4 separate regions of the Homo sapiens genome follow, and regions 1, 3 and 4 are each linked to region 2. Evidence: promoter capture Hi-C in 16 types of primary human blood cells and fetal thymus (Javierre and others, 2016). All regions are on one chromosome and are shown on one strand. Each heading gives the region's core, a stretch centred on a gene start or on the middle of the fragment in contact. The rest is flanking DNA. Distances are from core to core; before and after follow the strand shown. Region 1 holds the start of LINC00696 (long intergenic non-protein coding RNA 696). Region 2 holds the start of CISH (cytokine inducible SH2 containing protein). Region 3 overlaps RAD54L2 (RAD54 like 2). Region 4 overlaps LOC105377087 (a long non-coding RNA gene).

The links. The method cuts DNA at HindIII sites, captures the fragments that hold promoters and counts their contacts. A CHiCAGO score of 5 or more calls a contact.
Region 1: the fragment with the promoter of LINC00696 here is called in contact with the fragment with the promoter of CISH in region 2 in 1 of 17 cell types (total B cells); the score reaches 8.2 in total B cells.
Region 3: a fragment that was not itself captured here is called in contact with the fragment with the promoter of CISH in region 2 in 11 of 17 cell types (total B cells, naive CD4 T cells, fetal thymus and 8 more); the score reaches 11.4 in total B cells.
Region 4: a fragment that was not itself captured here is called in contact with the fragment with the promoter of CISH in region 2 in 1 of 17 cell types (naive B cells); the score reaches 6.2 in naive B cells.

Annotation. Positions count from the first base shown.
Region 1 is chr3:52,063,563-52,066,926 of GRCh38, forward strand. It overlaps LINC00696 (long intergenic non-protein coding RNA 696), which reads right to left and starts at 1,550. Exons shown (of 1, transcript NR_027331.1): 1 at 1-1,550. The HindIII fragment of the contact is 16,366 bases long and covers 1-3,364 here.
Region 2 is chr3:50,610,156-50,613,386 of GRCh38, forward strand. CISH (cytokine inducible SH2 containing protein) reads right to left here and starts at 1,619. Exons shown (of 3, transcript NM_145071.4): 1 at 1,476-1,619. The coding sequence starts at 1,495. It also overlaps a transcript of MAPKAPK3 not described here. RefSeq lists enhancers at 578-1,138, 2,048-2,137 and a silencer at 1,488-1,967. The HindIII fragment of the contact is 4,554 bases long and covers 1-3,231 here.
Region 3 is chr3:51,666,385-51,669,436 of GRCh38, forward strand. RAD54L2 (RAD54 like 2) reads left to right here. Exons shown (of 23, transcript NM_015106.4): 23 at 1-2,276. LOC124906237 (a long non-coding RNA gene) reads right to left here. Exons shown (of 2, transcript XR_007095907.1): 2 at 2,233-3,052. Among named protein-coding and RNA genes, the nearest start is that of TEX264, 3.3 kb to the right of the region's middle. The HindIII fragment of the contact is 4,778 bases long and covers 1-3,052 here.
Region 4 is chr3:51,794,495-51,797,903 of GRCh38, forward strand. All of the region lies in intron 2 of LOC105377087 (a long non-coding RNA gene), which reads left to right. Among named protein-coding and RNA genes, the nearest start is that of IQCF6, 17 kb to the left of the region's middle. The HindIII fragment of the contact is 754 bases long and covers 1,655-2,408 here.

The DNA of each region.
Region 1 (3,364 bases), core at 300-2,799, 1.5 Mb after region 2:
GATGCTCTGTGACCCCTCCCCTCCCTCTTCTCCTCGTCCTGGATTCTCCAGCAGCTTTCACTCTCTCACCCGCACTTCCCCAGCCCGGGCTCCTTCTGCAGGGCCTCTGCCCTCACTGATCCCCCTTCTGAAACCCTCTTCTCCCAGCTCTCGCCTTTGACTACCTTCTTATTCTGTCCCCCAAACCCACTCATCCTCTGAGGGCCACAGTGGGCACCTGGGAAGTGGCAGAGCCAGGATTGGAACCCTGGCCTACTTCTAGACTCTTCTGTGTTGTCAGCCATGAGCACATGGTCCTATGATTTAAACATGTTTGGGGCCAGGCGTGGTGGCTCACACCTGTAATCTCAGCATTTTGGGAGGCTGAGGTGGGTGGATCACTTGAACTCAGGAGTTCGAGACCAGCCTGGGCAACATGGCGAAACCCCATCTCTACAGGAAAAAAAAAAAAAATTGCTGGGTGTGGTGGTGCATGTCTGTAGTCCCAGCTCCTCAGGACACTGGGTGGAAGGATTTCTTGAGCCTGAGGGGCAAAGGCTGCAGTAAGCCATAATCATGCCGCTGCACTCCAGCCTGGGCGACAAAGCGAGAGGCTGTCTCAAAAAACCAAAGCAAACAAAACCCACAAAACAAAACAAAACATCTTTGGCCCTCCGTTGCCATACTCGATGATTCCAGAAGCCTCTTACTTCCATTCCCTCCTTGGGCCTCAGCCTGTTCTGTATGACCTGCCCAGAGTCACTCAGTGAGAGTCTCTGGAGCCAGAGGGCTCCCTGACATGAAGGGATGGACCTGCTGGCACCTTGCCTGGCAGGCCTCATCCTGGCCTTGGACCATAGCCCTTGATTTCCCCCACCCAGCTACAGCTCCTCCGTCCTCCACAGAATGAGCCCAAACTCCCACCTCTTCATGGACCTGAAGGTCCCTGGGGTCTTAAGCCTGGGTTTTAGTCCTATACCCCACCGCCACCCCCCTTCAAGCCTGGAGGAGGGGCTGGGCTGGGTCAGGGGTTCTGACTCACCTGGGCACCCCATCTGCTGACACGGAGGTCATCCCTAGAGAGCCAGGAGAAGACACTCAACAGCCCAGGGAAATCAGGTGTGCTGCATCTGATGTCCTCGGGCCTCAGAGGCAGGCAGAGGAGAAGGGGAAAGGACTCAGATAAACCCAGGTGGACTGGGTTCCCTGCTCCAAAGCCACGGGTGAGGGCTACACCCTCGCCTCTTGCATCCCCTTCCCCACGATCCTCAGCATCTCTGCCCTGGGATGATCTCTCGCCTGCCTTACACTCCAGGGCTTGTGGGCTGCACGCCATGAGCCCACCTGGGAGCCTGAGGGATGGGAGCCAGGGCTTTGCAGGAGCAGGAATCCTTAGCTGCATGCCCACGTGGCCACCATGGCACTCTTGGCCCCCTGCTCAAAATTTCTGATCTTTCGAAGGCCACCTCTGCCAGGAAGGGCCTGGAGCCCAGGTGGTTTGAGCAGGGGATGGGGAGGGGGAGAAGACATCTCGGGCAGGCATTTGCTCAACCAGAGCAATGGCAAGAAGTAGTGATGGGGCTGGGGGTTGCCCTGGTTCTATCTTTGCCAAACCAACCTATGGTTTTTTGATTGGCAGAGCTGGCAGTGGGAGGTTCCTGACAGTGAAGACAGTCCAACCTTTGAGGCGGGGAGGGCAAAAGAGGCCAGGAGTTCTCATGGCACCTCGTGGGCGGATGTGCCAGGGGCTTAATTGCCTCATTAGCATCTGCCTGCTGCCTGGGCCTGTCTGGTCCCCTCCCTGCCTGCCCACACGGCCCCGTTTTTCAGGAATCCTTCCTATGAGGCATTGATGGTGACAGTGAGGGTGACCATGACGAAGCTGGGAAATGGCTTGGGAGCCGGCTGGCCTGGCCCAGGTGCAGGGTTGCTGGCTTGAGGCCTCATAGCCCAGCACCATTCCACGTGGTTCAGCTGGCCAGCTGCCTGCCGGGACCTGGATGCGGACTGTTCCCAGGTAGGCAACAGCAGGAAATAGTCTAAGGACTCCCCTTCCTGCCCTGGCCCCACCCAGCCTGACTCCGGCCACAGGCGCACATGCTTCAAGACTTGGATGACTCCCTTCCTGAAAAGATCAGGCCCTCGAGGAGGGAGGAGTTCAATGGCTCTCTCAGGGCTCCTAGTGGGCCCTCCAAGGTGGGGACAGGATGGACAAGGGCCTACTCTGCCTGGGCCCCTGCCCACCTCCCTGCCCCTCCCCGTGGCTTACGTAGTCTCCCAGCAGAGGACAGCACTGCCCTGACACCCATCTCCAACAGGACAACCCTCTAGCCTGAGCCCTAGGAGCAGCTGAGCCCAGGGCTGGTGGGCTGAAGAGTGTTGGGAGGCATTTGGCTGGAGCTGGAGACCTCCCCAGAGACCCTGAAGCATCAGCCAGCCCACAGCCCCAAGGCCCGGCCCAAGAACTCAGTCTGAGGGGTAGCTGGATTCCCCAGGCCATGGGCACTACCCAGACTTGGAGCTCCCAGGAACAACAAAAAGGCCCAAGGAGCTGGAGCCCATGGAGCTGGGGAAACACAGCTCTGCTGCCTGCAACACACTTGGGGGGCCTCTGCAGTGCCCCAGCCCCTGGGCCTTAATCTCTCCATCTATAAAGCAGGGCAGTACCTTCTGCCTCCCCTGACTCCCAGGGACTATGGGGCAGCCAGGGAAGTTCCACATTGGGCCCATCAGAGGGAAAGGAAAGGCCTCTTTGTCCTAAGTGGCTGGGTATGGGCCCTCGACTACCCCTATGCACTTTGGGCAGCAGGAGTGGCCTTGGCCTGACCCACCTGTGCCAGAGAAGGTCAAGTGCTGACCACCTGGCAGGCCCTTTGCCAGGCATAGCAGGACAGCCCTATGTGGCCCTCAGGTGACCAAGGTGTGAGTATGCCATGTGTGTTGGGACAGGGCAGGGATAAGATTGGGTTGGGGTGGAGATAGGGGAGCCTGACCAAGACACTTGGCTCCAATTTTGACCACCACTGGCCTCCCCTCTCCAAGCCTCAGTTTCTTCCTCTATAAGGAGTCCCCAGATCCCGGGCTGTGGAGAACCGCCTGAGCTCCACCTCCTATCAGGTCAGCGTTGGCATTAGATTCTCATAGCAGCGCGAACCCTATTGTGGACAGCGAATGAGAGGGATCTAGGTTGCATGCGCCATATGAGAATCTAATGCCTATGATCTGAGGTGGAACAGTTTCATCCCGAAACCATGCCTCCAGCCCAAGTCCATGGAAAAATTGTCTTCCACGAAACTGGTCCCCGGTGCCAAAAAGGTTGAGGACCGCTGGTCTATAAAATGGGGCTTCAGTCTACCAGGCAAGAGTGTTGCAAGGCAGCAGATGA
Region 2 (3,231 bases), core at 369-2,868:
TTTTGAGATGACCTGCTTGCTGGGGCCCAGAGCTACCTTCCCAGGAGCATGGTTGGTGGCTAGCCAGTCAGGCTGGAACCTCTGTGGGTGGCCACGTCCAGATAGCTTAGCCGGTCCTCAGATCCCACATGTAGGTGTGGGCACCTTTGGGGCTGATGTGGTAGCTGGGTGTATGAATAGCTGTGTTGATCACCACAAGCTCCTGGTGAGTGTGTACCTGGGCAGGGGTGTGTCCATGGCTGTGTCATCATCATGGTGGGGACAGTGGCTGGTGTGTTCTAGGTACATGTGTGTGCCCGCTTTGGAGCGCAGCAGTCTAAAACTTTGTTCCCTGACACCCAACAGTAGCCCTGAGCTTACAAGGGGGTGCTCACCTAGGGTAAAAAGTGAAAGAGGCTATGGGACCCCGGAATGCAGGGGGAGGCTCCTGGGGTGGAAGGCAGTGGTGGGGCAGGTATTCAGGAGTCCCAGAATGCAGACAGGAGGAAGGAACTTGCTGGAGACAGCAAGGGAGAAGTAGTCTTCCCAGCACCTCCATGTCCTCTTCCTTGGCCTCACCTTCCACCCTCCCTCACTTGGCACCAGGCCAGTTGCGATAAGCACAGCCACCCAGTCCTCCCTGAGTGCAGAACACCCATTTATACCTTCTTCCTCTCTCCTTGGAGCTTCCTGAGCTCCTGTCACATCACCATGGCCAGCATCAGACCCTTTGGTTGAAGGGGTTGCTGAGGTTCAGGACAGAGTGGATGGCCAGGAATGCTCAGCTCAGGTCAAGACTCTGTCTTATCAGCATCCCCTCTCCACTGTCCCTTACCTCAAGTCTGGGAAATTTGAAGATGAGAGGCAGGAGCCAAGGTCCTTCTCACATTGGGATCCCAGACTGGGCTGAGACAGGGTTGTGAGACGATTGTGGGGGTACCCCAAGCAGGACCAGGCCAAACCCAGGGCCTCCCGAGAGTTGCAGACCATCAGGTGCCAGCCTGAGGAAAGGCAAGGATCTGCGGCTGGCTTCCCAAGAAGAGCCTACTTGCTAGCCTGGGGCAGGAGAGGGGACACCAGGACAGAGGGGGCCAGGGGCTGGTCCAAGGTTACTAGCAGGCAGGGCAGCAGGCAGGCTAGCGTAGAGTGCTCTGGGCCCAGAAGAATATCTGGGATTGTTGGCCACATCTTGGGGGACGCCGTGCCGTTAGCATCCATCTGCTCCAATGAGAACCCAGGCTGAGCCCACCCTGTGAGTTCCTCCTTTAGCCGGCCAGCCCCCGGTTTCCCAATCCACAGTGGGAATTGAGGTAAGTGTGTGGGGGCGGGGAGTGGGAGTGTCACAGCCCCACACAGAGCCTTGCTCCTGAGGTCCGTCTGCGCTCAGTCACCTCTGGCCCGTCAAGCCCTCCCAATGCCCGGCAGCTAGCACGAAGCCCCTGTTCTCCCGTGCGCCCCTCGTGGTGGCCGGGAAGGGGGCAGAGAGCCGCGCTTACCCCTGAACGCAGAGGACCATGTCCCCGCGGCAGCGGCGACTCCGGAGTGGGGACTCGGCTGGACGGCGGCGGCTGGAGGGAACCAGTGGGCGCGGAGCGCGTGCTGGGTAGGCTCCCGGGGCGCGCGGGCGCAGGACAGGGACTGAGAGGCAGTGGCGCGGACCGCCTGCGAGGGCGAGGGGGGCGGGCCAGACGAGCGGGGCGGGGCGAGCTGCTGCCTAATCCTTTGTCTGCCGCGTTCCAGCCCTTCCCGGAAGCAGCGTCTTCCTAGAACCGCGGGCTGAGCGGTGGGGCCCGGGCGGGGTGCGCGGGCCCCGTCGCCGGGTCTGGGGCCCTGAGCAGTGAAAGGAAATACTTTGACAGATTTCCAAGAACTTTCCAGGAAAACGGGGCGGGGCCCCGCGAGCTGACCAATCGCGACGCTGAAGGTGGAGCCGAGCGGTCGGGGAGGGCCAATAGCAGCGCGTGGACCCGGGGCTGAAGCTACCCAGAGGGGCAGGTCGGAGAGATCAGTGGGGAAAGACCGGGTCGGGGAAGTTAAGGAGGGGCCCGGGCTCAGCAACCCGCGCCCAGATTGCCTTCTGGCATTCTGCGTCGTTGGGGAAGGGCCCTCTTATCTCGCGGTGGAACTCGTGGCAGGGCGGGGGGCGGAGTCCCGGGCTTGTCCTCCCTGCGAGCGGCTCCTCCAAGGAGGTCTGTCGGCGTGTGCAAGCGCCCCGTGTTGGGACGGCCGCTCCTGGACCCTAGGACTCTGTGTGTCGGGTGTCGGATTGGGTGGCATGGGGTGAGATCTGGAGCGGGACTTAGGGCAGGGCGGGGTGCAGAGGACAGTTCCAGAAATGAGTGGGTCCACTGAGGTCAAGCCGGCGGTCACCACAGCCAGAAAGATCCAGACAAGAACGTTTTCTTTGAAAGAGTTGAAGGAGAAAGCACGCCCCAACTTTTCGAATCAGGCAGACCATCCAGTCTTGGCTGGCACTGGTTTCTGGCCGGCCCTGCCAGTCAGGGGAGAAGAGACTACAGATTTGAGAAAGCAAGCAGAGACAGCCCCAGATGGCCCGGACTCTGGGTTGGTACCACCCCCACCCCCCGCCAGAAAAAAAATGCTGAGAGAGAGTCCTGCAACTCAAAACATAGGGAGATAATCTGGGAGTAGGGTGATAGAGGTTGGGGCGGGATGGCGGGGGCAGAGTAGTAACACTCGCTCTTATCTACAGGGAGTACTTGCTGCATTTGATCCTCTACAACTGGTGTTGCTCCCGTTATGCGGACAGAAGACAGCCCCAGGGAACAAATGCTAGGAAATGGCAGGGTAAGAGCTTGGTCCCAGCTCTGAATCAGAAGCCCACGCTCCTACCAGGACCCTCTCCACCTTTTTTCAGTTCACTGGATTCACTATGGAGCATCTTGAAGGACTGTAGGGTCTGTGAATCTCCTCCAAACCCTTGGGCCAGAAGAACTGTGGGATTTGGAGAGGTTGCAGGGTCCACTCCCCACCCCCATCCCCCTCCCAGTGTGTGCCCCCAGGGTCCCCAGAAAGGAGTCTAGCTCTGAGATCCTGGGCAGGGATGACAGACCCCTGGCCTTGTTGAAGGGCCTGAACGATAGCATCCAGGGAAGACAGGGCTCAGTTTGCTCTGCCCAGAATGGCAGAGGGCAAAAGAAACCTGAAAGCAAAACCCTGTGAAACTGGGGAAAAAACGTTAAGTTTCAGATTTCAGGGCAGTCACTTCTCTGTAGCTTTCCTGAAGGGAAG
Region 3 (3,052 bases), core at 246-2,745, 1.1 Mb after region 2:
CCACCCATTATCCAGGCCTGAGGGGGGCAGGGTGGCTGGTGATAAGAGGGAGGGCAGAAAATCAGGCCTAGGCGTTTTCCCTTACCATTGTCTTCCATGGAATGTTTTCAAGGGCCTCTCAAGCCCCATTCATCTGGTTTAGCCAAGTTCTCAGCCTGGGGAACACAGTACTACTTAATGATTGAGGTTTACCATTTATAGTGATGCTTGATTTCCTTTTCTTAATATATTTGTAGATAAAAATTGAACAGGGACAAAGTAGCTATTTAAGAAAGGAAGTGAACCATGTTGGGTCATATCATTTTCTTTAGATTGGATATCTATGAAGTCCACACCCCTTTGAGTTATGCTTTTTAGGCATCTATCTCATCATCTCCTGATTTAAGGATAATTCTGTCTGGTCCTTGGAGCTCTCTTCCCTAGGAATTAGTGTGTGGAGTCTCTATATGCTTGTGATCCTTGGAGCTCTCTTCCCTAGGAATTAGTGTGTGGAGTCTCTATATGCTTGTGATTCACAACTAAATATGAAATTTCTCAATTCAGGAGCAGGAAGCAAAGTGCTGGGGTACAGTTTTGCAGATTGGTTGAAACACTTAGCCAAACTTAAGTGGCCTGGGTAGGACCATCACTCCCAAAGTTGTCAGCAGAGAAGGGCCCTCTGTGTGAGTCTATTCAAACCTGGCATTGCTCTGAAATTGAGTCCTCATCCCATGGGGAAGGTCTTCTGGGGGCTTTACATTCCTTGTTACTAGTGTTCTGGATATTACCTTCTGCTTCCCACTTCCTTTTTTTTTTTTTTGAGACAGAGTCTTGCTCTGTCACCCAGGCTTGAGTGCAATGGTGTGATCTTGGCTCCGTGCAACCTCCACTCCCGGTTTCAAGCGATCCTCCTGCCTCAGCCTCCCAAGTAGCTGGGATTACAGGTGCACACCACCATGCCCAGCTAATTTGTATATTTTTTAGTAGAGACGGGGTTTCACCACGTTGGCCAGGCTGGCCTTGAACTCCTGACCTCAAGTGATCCACCCTCCTCGGCCTCCCAGTGATGGGATTACAGGCGTGAGCCACTGCTCCTGGCCCCCACTTCCTTTTGATTTCTCAGATCAGTCTTTCCCTTCTGAGCCATGGCCTTCTGTGCACCCAGCTCAGTGGCTCTTCACCCCTAAAACTAAGTGAAGTCATCCTTCCCCAAAAGGACCCCTGGGAGATGTTCTGGCCCTCTGCTGACTACTCCCAGGAATCAGCACCTCAAGGACTATTTGAGAATGTTGTGCTCTCTATTGGTCACCTTGAGACTCCGTTCCCCTGCTGCCAACTCTTCTCTTCTGCCCTGTGTATTCTGCTGTGATCCCCTTAACGGCTTTTCTGTGCTACTAGCTTAGCCCTAGGCCTTTTATGAATACCTGAGTCTTATAACAATGAACTTCTTGAGCAGGCAGTGTCCAACTTCTTTGCTCTTCAGGGACCTGAGTGTGCACCTTTCCCTTTTGCAGGTCTATTTGACATAGTAATCTAGTGTGTTGGGGAGGGGTAGCCAAGCAGGCTGCAGTGTCTGCAATGCAGAGGGCTTGGGGAGGTTTGGGTACTCTCTGCTGCCACTACTGGGATGATATTCAGAAGAGAGAGGACCTCATACTGTGACTGGACCCAGGACCCTCCCTGGAAGAGAGCTCAGCCCAGCTGTGTGTGTGTGTGTGTGTGAGTGTGTGTGTGTGTGTTTGTGTGCTGTGCTCATGTGCACCTGGGTGTAAAATGACTGTTATCTGGTTGTGTTACTCAGGGTGGGCTGGGGACTCACCAGAAGAATCCCCCCCAGCCTGCCCAAGACAGGTTTTTCCCTTGTACCATCTTCAGAGAGGTCAGGGGAAGAGGGTCCAGGTGGGTTAAGGGGGGTCGCTATGGATAACCACTAAGACCAGACTGCTGCCAGGAGGAGTGGGGGATAATGAGGTGGCCCCAGGGTCCTGGCACCTGGCTTTGGTTTTCCGTCTTCTTTCCTCAGGACGCCCCTGAGGCCTGGGACCTGTGCCTGGCTTCGAGGAGCATCTGTGGCTGGGTGATCCAGCTGCTGGTGTGATCATGGGCTTCCCTCCTCTCAGCAGGGCAGGCGCTCCTGCCCCAGAGACTGGGCAACTGGCTGTTTCTATGACGTATTTATTTTTACTTGTGTTTCATGTCACTTTTTTAAAAAAAAGCAAACAGAACAATTGTAAGTCAGTATAACTGCCTATCAGTTTTCTTTATTTCTCTTTTTGTAAAATAAAATTTAAACTCAAGAAGGCAGTGTTGTTTGATCAAGGAATTGTCTGGATAGTTGTTTGGCTGGGTGGTGGTGAAAGGAATAGATCTTAGAACATAGTGGGCTCTGGGATAGCCCTTGGGTGATGAGATAGGCAGGAACAGAAGGAAGACTGATGGCAGGCTCTTTGTTGCAGTGGGGTTCACTGGGCTTTTTCTGCTTTTGTTCACCTGAAGAAGGATGTATTACCAGGCTCCAGGGGAAACAGCAAGCTGACTTCAGAGTGGCTTGAAGCTAGCTGGTCCTCAGCCAAGGCAAGTCCTGCAGGGGCAGCCCTGACTAGACAGTGAGTGGCTGGGGATTGGGCACAATGCCTTCAGAGGGTGGGAGACAGTGTGTCTGTGAGTGGCTGGTGGCAGCGAAAACATTCTTATTGCATGTGTATTCTCTGTCATCCATGTTGGGGAATCTAGCCACTGGCCCACAGAGTTAAACAGAGCTTTGGAGTGTGAGAGGTGGGGGAAAGAAGGGACAGTCTACTCCAGCTTCCTGTTTAATTTCTTCAAGGGGAGGGGCCCTGGGGAAACAATTTTCTGGAAATTTACAAAGAAGGATAGAGAAAGAATCTCTGTAGTGATTCCTTGGACAGAGGAAGGCAAGAGGAGATGAAGGCCAAGTCTGGACTCATGATAGGGGAATCTGTGCTATTGGGAGATAAGATTGGGAGTGGAGGATGGTTGCAGCACATGGCTGGGCGAACAGGTTTCCTCAGACCTGTTACAAGGGGTTGGAATGAAGAAAGTGCCTTGTAGA
Region 4 (3,409 bases), core at 782-3,281, 1.2 Mb after region 2:
GCTGCACCTTTTTTTTTAAACAATTTAGAATGCTCCTTGCCTAAAAAAACCAAAAAACCAACAAACTAGTCTCCAGTTTGTAGCAGTTTCTTTCTATTCTAGTTTTTCTCAGAGTTTTATTAAGATTGGCTGCTGAACTTTATAACCAGCATTTTCAGCATATATTAAGTTGATCAGGGGGCTTTTTGTTTTCCCTTTAAATTGTTCATGTAAAGACATATGACTACCTTTTCCTGATGTTGAATATTTCTGGAATAACCCTTATTTACTCTTACTGTCTTGTTCTTTGGACACACTGCTGGATTCTATTTGGTAATGTTCAATTTTTTTACATTTACATCTGTATTGATTACTGAGATTGGGCCATAGCAGAGGTCAGCAAATTACTGCCCCTGGGCCAAATTCAGCCCACGACTCGTTTTTGTACATCTCACGACCTGAGAATGGTTTTTACATTTTTTAATGGTTGCGAAAAAATTAAAAGAAGAGTAGTATTTTGTGACAATGGAAAATTATATCAAATACAAATTTCAGTGTTCATAAATAAAGATTTATTTGGAACACTACTGCACTCATTCATTTACATATTGTTCGGAGTGCTTTTGTGAGTGGTAGAGTTGAGTACTTGCAAAAGAGACTGTATGGCCCCAAACCTAAAATATTTACTATTTGGCTCTTTACAGAAATGTTTGCCAACCTCTCTGGTCTATCTTTTTGTTGGGGGAGGAGCTATCTTTATCAGATTTGGTATGAAGTGTAATCTGGCTTCGTAAAATGAATTGGAGAATTTCTTTTCTTTTTTCTATTATGTGGAATAGTTTAAATATCTTTGGAATGATCTTCTCTCTAAAGGTTAGATAAAGCTCAGCTATGAAACTATTTCTTCCAGGGCAATATTTAATATATAAAAATATAATCTTCCTTGGTAATTGTTCTATTCAAGTTTTCTATTTTTTCTTGGATTGATTTTGGTAATTTAGATTTTGTTAGAAAACCATCCATTCCCTCAATAGTTTCAAATTTGGTTTGCCATAAACTTGCATAGTGTTGTTCTCCTTAATATAATTTTAATTTCACCACATCTGTAGTTGAGTCTCAGTTCTCATTTTCTGTCTTGTATATTTTTACCCTCTTTTTTTTCTTTAATCTGGTTTATAAGAGAACTGGAGAGTCTATCTGTTTGTTTGTTTGTCTGTTTTTCAAAGAAACAGCTTTTGAGTTTATCTTTCCTTTAACTTTTTTTCTTGGTTTTCCATTTCACTAATTCAAACTTTTATTATCTCCTAGTCTTCATTTATGTTAGATTGTTTTGTCTTTTTTCTCACTGTTAGGATGAGTTCCCACATTTTTGGGATGTATTTTGGGGGTCTATCTTCCATAATAAGGCATTTGAGGCTGTTGGGGTCCATCCTCCATAATAAGGCATTGAGGCTGTGAAATTCCCTCTAAGCCCAGGCTTTATTAGGAAGTGGTCTATTTTTTCATTGCTTTATGGGTAGTTTGCAATTTTATCTTGATTTCACCTTCCTTTAAGAGTTTTTCTTAATTTCCAATGAGGTAAGACTTTTATTAATTTTTAAATTATTTGTTTCTGATTTTATTGGATATGATCACTGAAAATATGTATACAATTTCTATTTTTTTGTTGTTTTTAAGCTTCTTTTAGTGGCCAAGTACATGGCAGTTCTTTGTTAATATTCTCTGGACATATGAAATAAATGATTATTCTCTGTTTGAAAGATATAAAGTTCTGTATGTATCTGCTGATGACTGCTTGATGATTACTGTTTATTCAATTCCCCCATGTCCCTGCTTTTTGGCTACTGATGTTGAAATTTCTTACAATAATAATCGCATTCTCCTTGCATTTCGTAGTTCTAATAATTTGTTAGTTGATTCTTTGGGGTTTTTAAAGTAGGTGACCATATCAGTTATAAATACTGACAACTTTGTAGTTTTTTTCCTCCAGCATGATACCTCTTTCTTTCCCTCCCTCCTTCCTTCCTTCCTTCTTTCCTTCCTTCTGCTGTTGCACAAAGACTCAAGAACAGCGTTGAAAAGCATTGTGGGGAGTGGCACCACGTTTCCCTCTGACTTTAATGGGGTTGTTTCTTATGCTTTCCCACCAGTGAGGACATTTGCAGGAGTTTCATTTTATCTAGCCTTAGCAAATTAAGTACATTTCCTTCCATTCTTGTGTGCTAATTGTTTTTTGCAATCAAGATGTTTATTAAATGCTTTTCTTTTTAATAACAGCATGTAACCACCCGGTGGGTTCTCTTTGCCTGCTGTCTAGACAGAGCCAATATCAAGACAGGGGAATTGCAATAGAGAAAGAGTTTAATTCACACAGAGCTGGCTGTATGGGAGACCTGAGTTTTATTATTACTCAAATCAGTCTCCCTGAAAGCTTGGGGATAGGGGGTTTTAAGCATAACTTGGCAGGTAGGGGGTCAGAAAGTGGGAAGCGCTGATTGGTCAGGTTGGAGATGAAATCATAGGGAGTCAAAGCTGTTCTCTTGTGCTGAGTCAGTTCCTGGGTGGGGAGGCCACAAGACCAAATGAACCAGTTTACTGGTTTGGGTGGTGTCTACTGATCCATCAAGTACAGGGTCTGAAAATATCTCAAGTACTGATCTTAGGTTTTACAACAGTAATGTTATCCCCAGGGACAATTTGGGGAGGTCCATAATCTTGCAGCTTCTAACTGCATGACTCCTAAACCATAATTTCTAATCTTGTGGCTAATTTGTTAGTTCTGCAAAGGCAGTCTAACCCCCAGGCAGGAAGGAGGTTTGTTTTGGAAAGGGCTGTTACCATCTTTGTTTCAAAGTTGGGCTACAAACTAAATTCCTCCCAAAGTTAGTTCAGCCTATGCCCAGGAATGAACAAGAACAGCTTGGAGGTTCGAAGCAAGATGGAGTTAGTTGGGTCAGATCTCTTTCACTGTCAGAATTCTCTCAGTTATAATTTTTGCAAAGGCAGCTTCAAGCAGGAAGGATTTCACTGTTTTCCTCTTTGATCTGTTAATATGGTAAATTACATCGATATATTTTTCCCACGGAAACCTCCTCACAGTGGTGGGCTTTAGCCAGATTTTAGGCTACCTGACACCTCCAGGGAAGTTTAAATTTTCCCTCTGAAGTTTTGATAATTGAATCTGCTGAAATAGACTGACGATAGACAGACAAGAGAAAAGGCATACAAATGTATTAGCATGCAAGCACATGGGAATCATACAAGCATGAAACTCAAAGAAAAGTCAGATAATTGAAGCTTAAATACCTTCTTCACATGGGAGAGGAAAGTGGAAGATGTAGACAATTCTAGAGGAAGAGTAAATGATTTTTAAGAAGGATGAATGAGACTGAAGCACAAACAATAGCTGAAGGCAAAGTTCTTCTAGGCT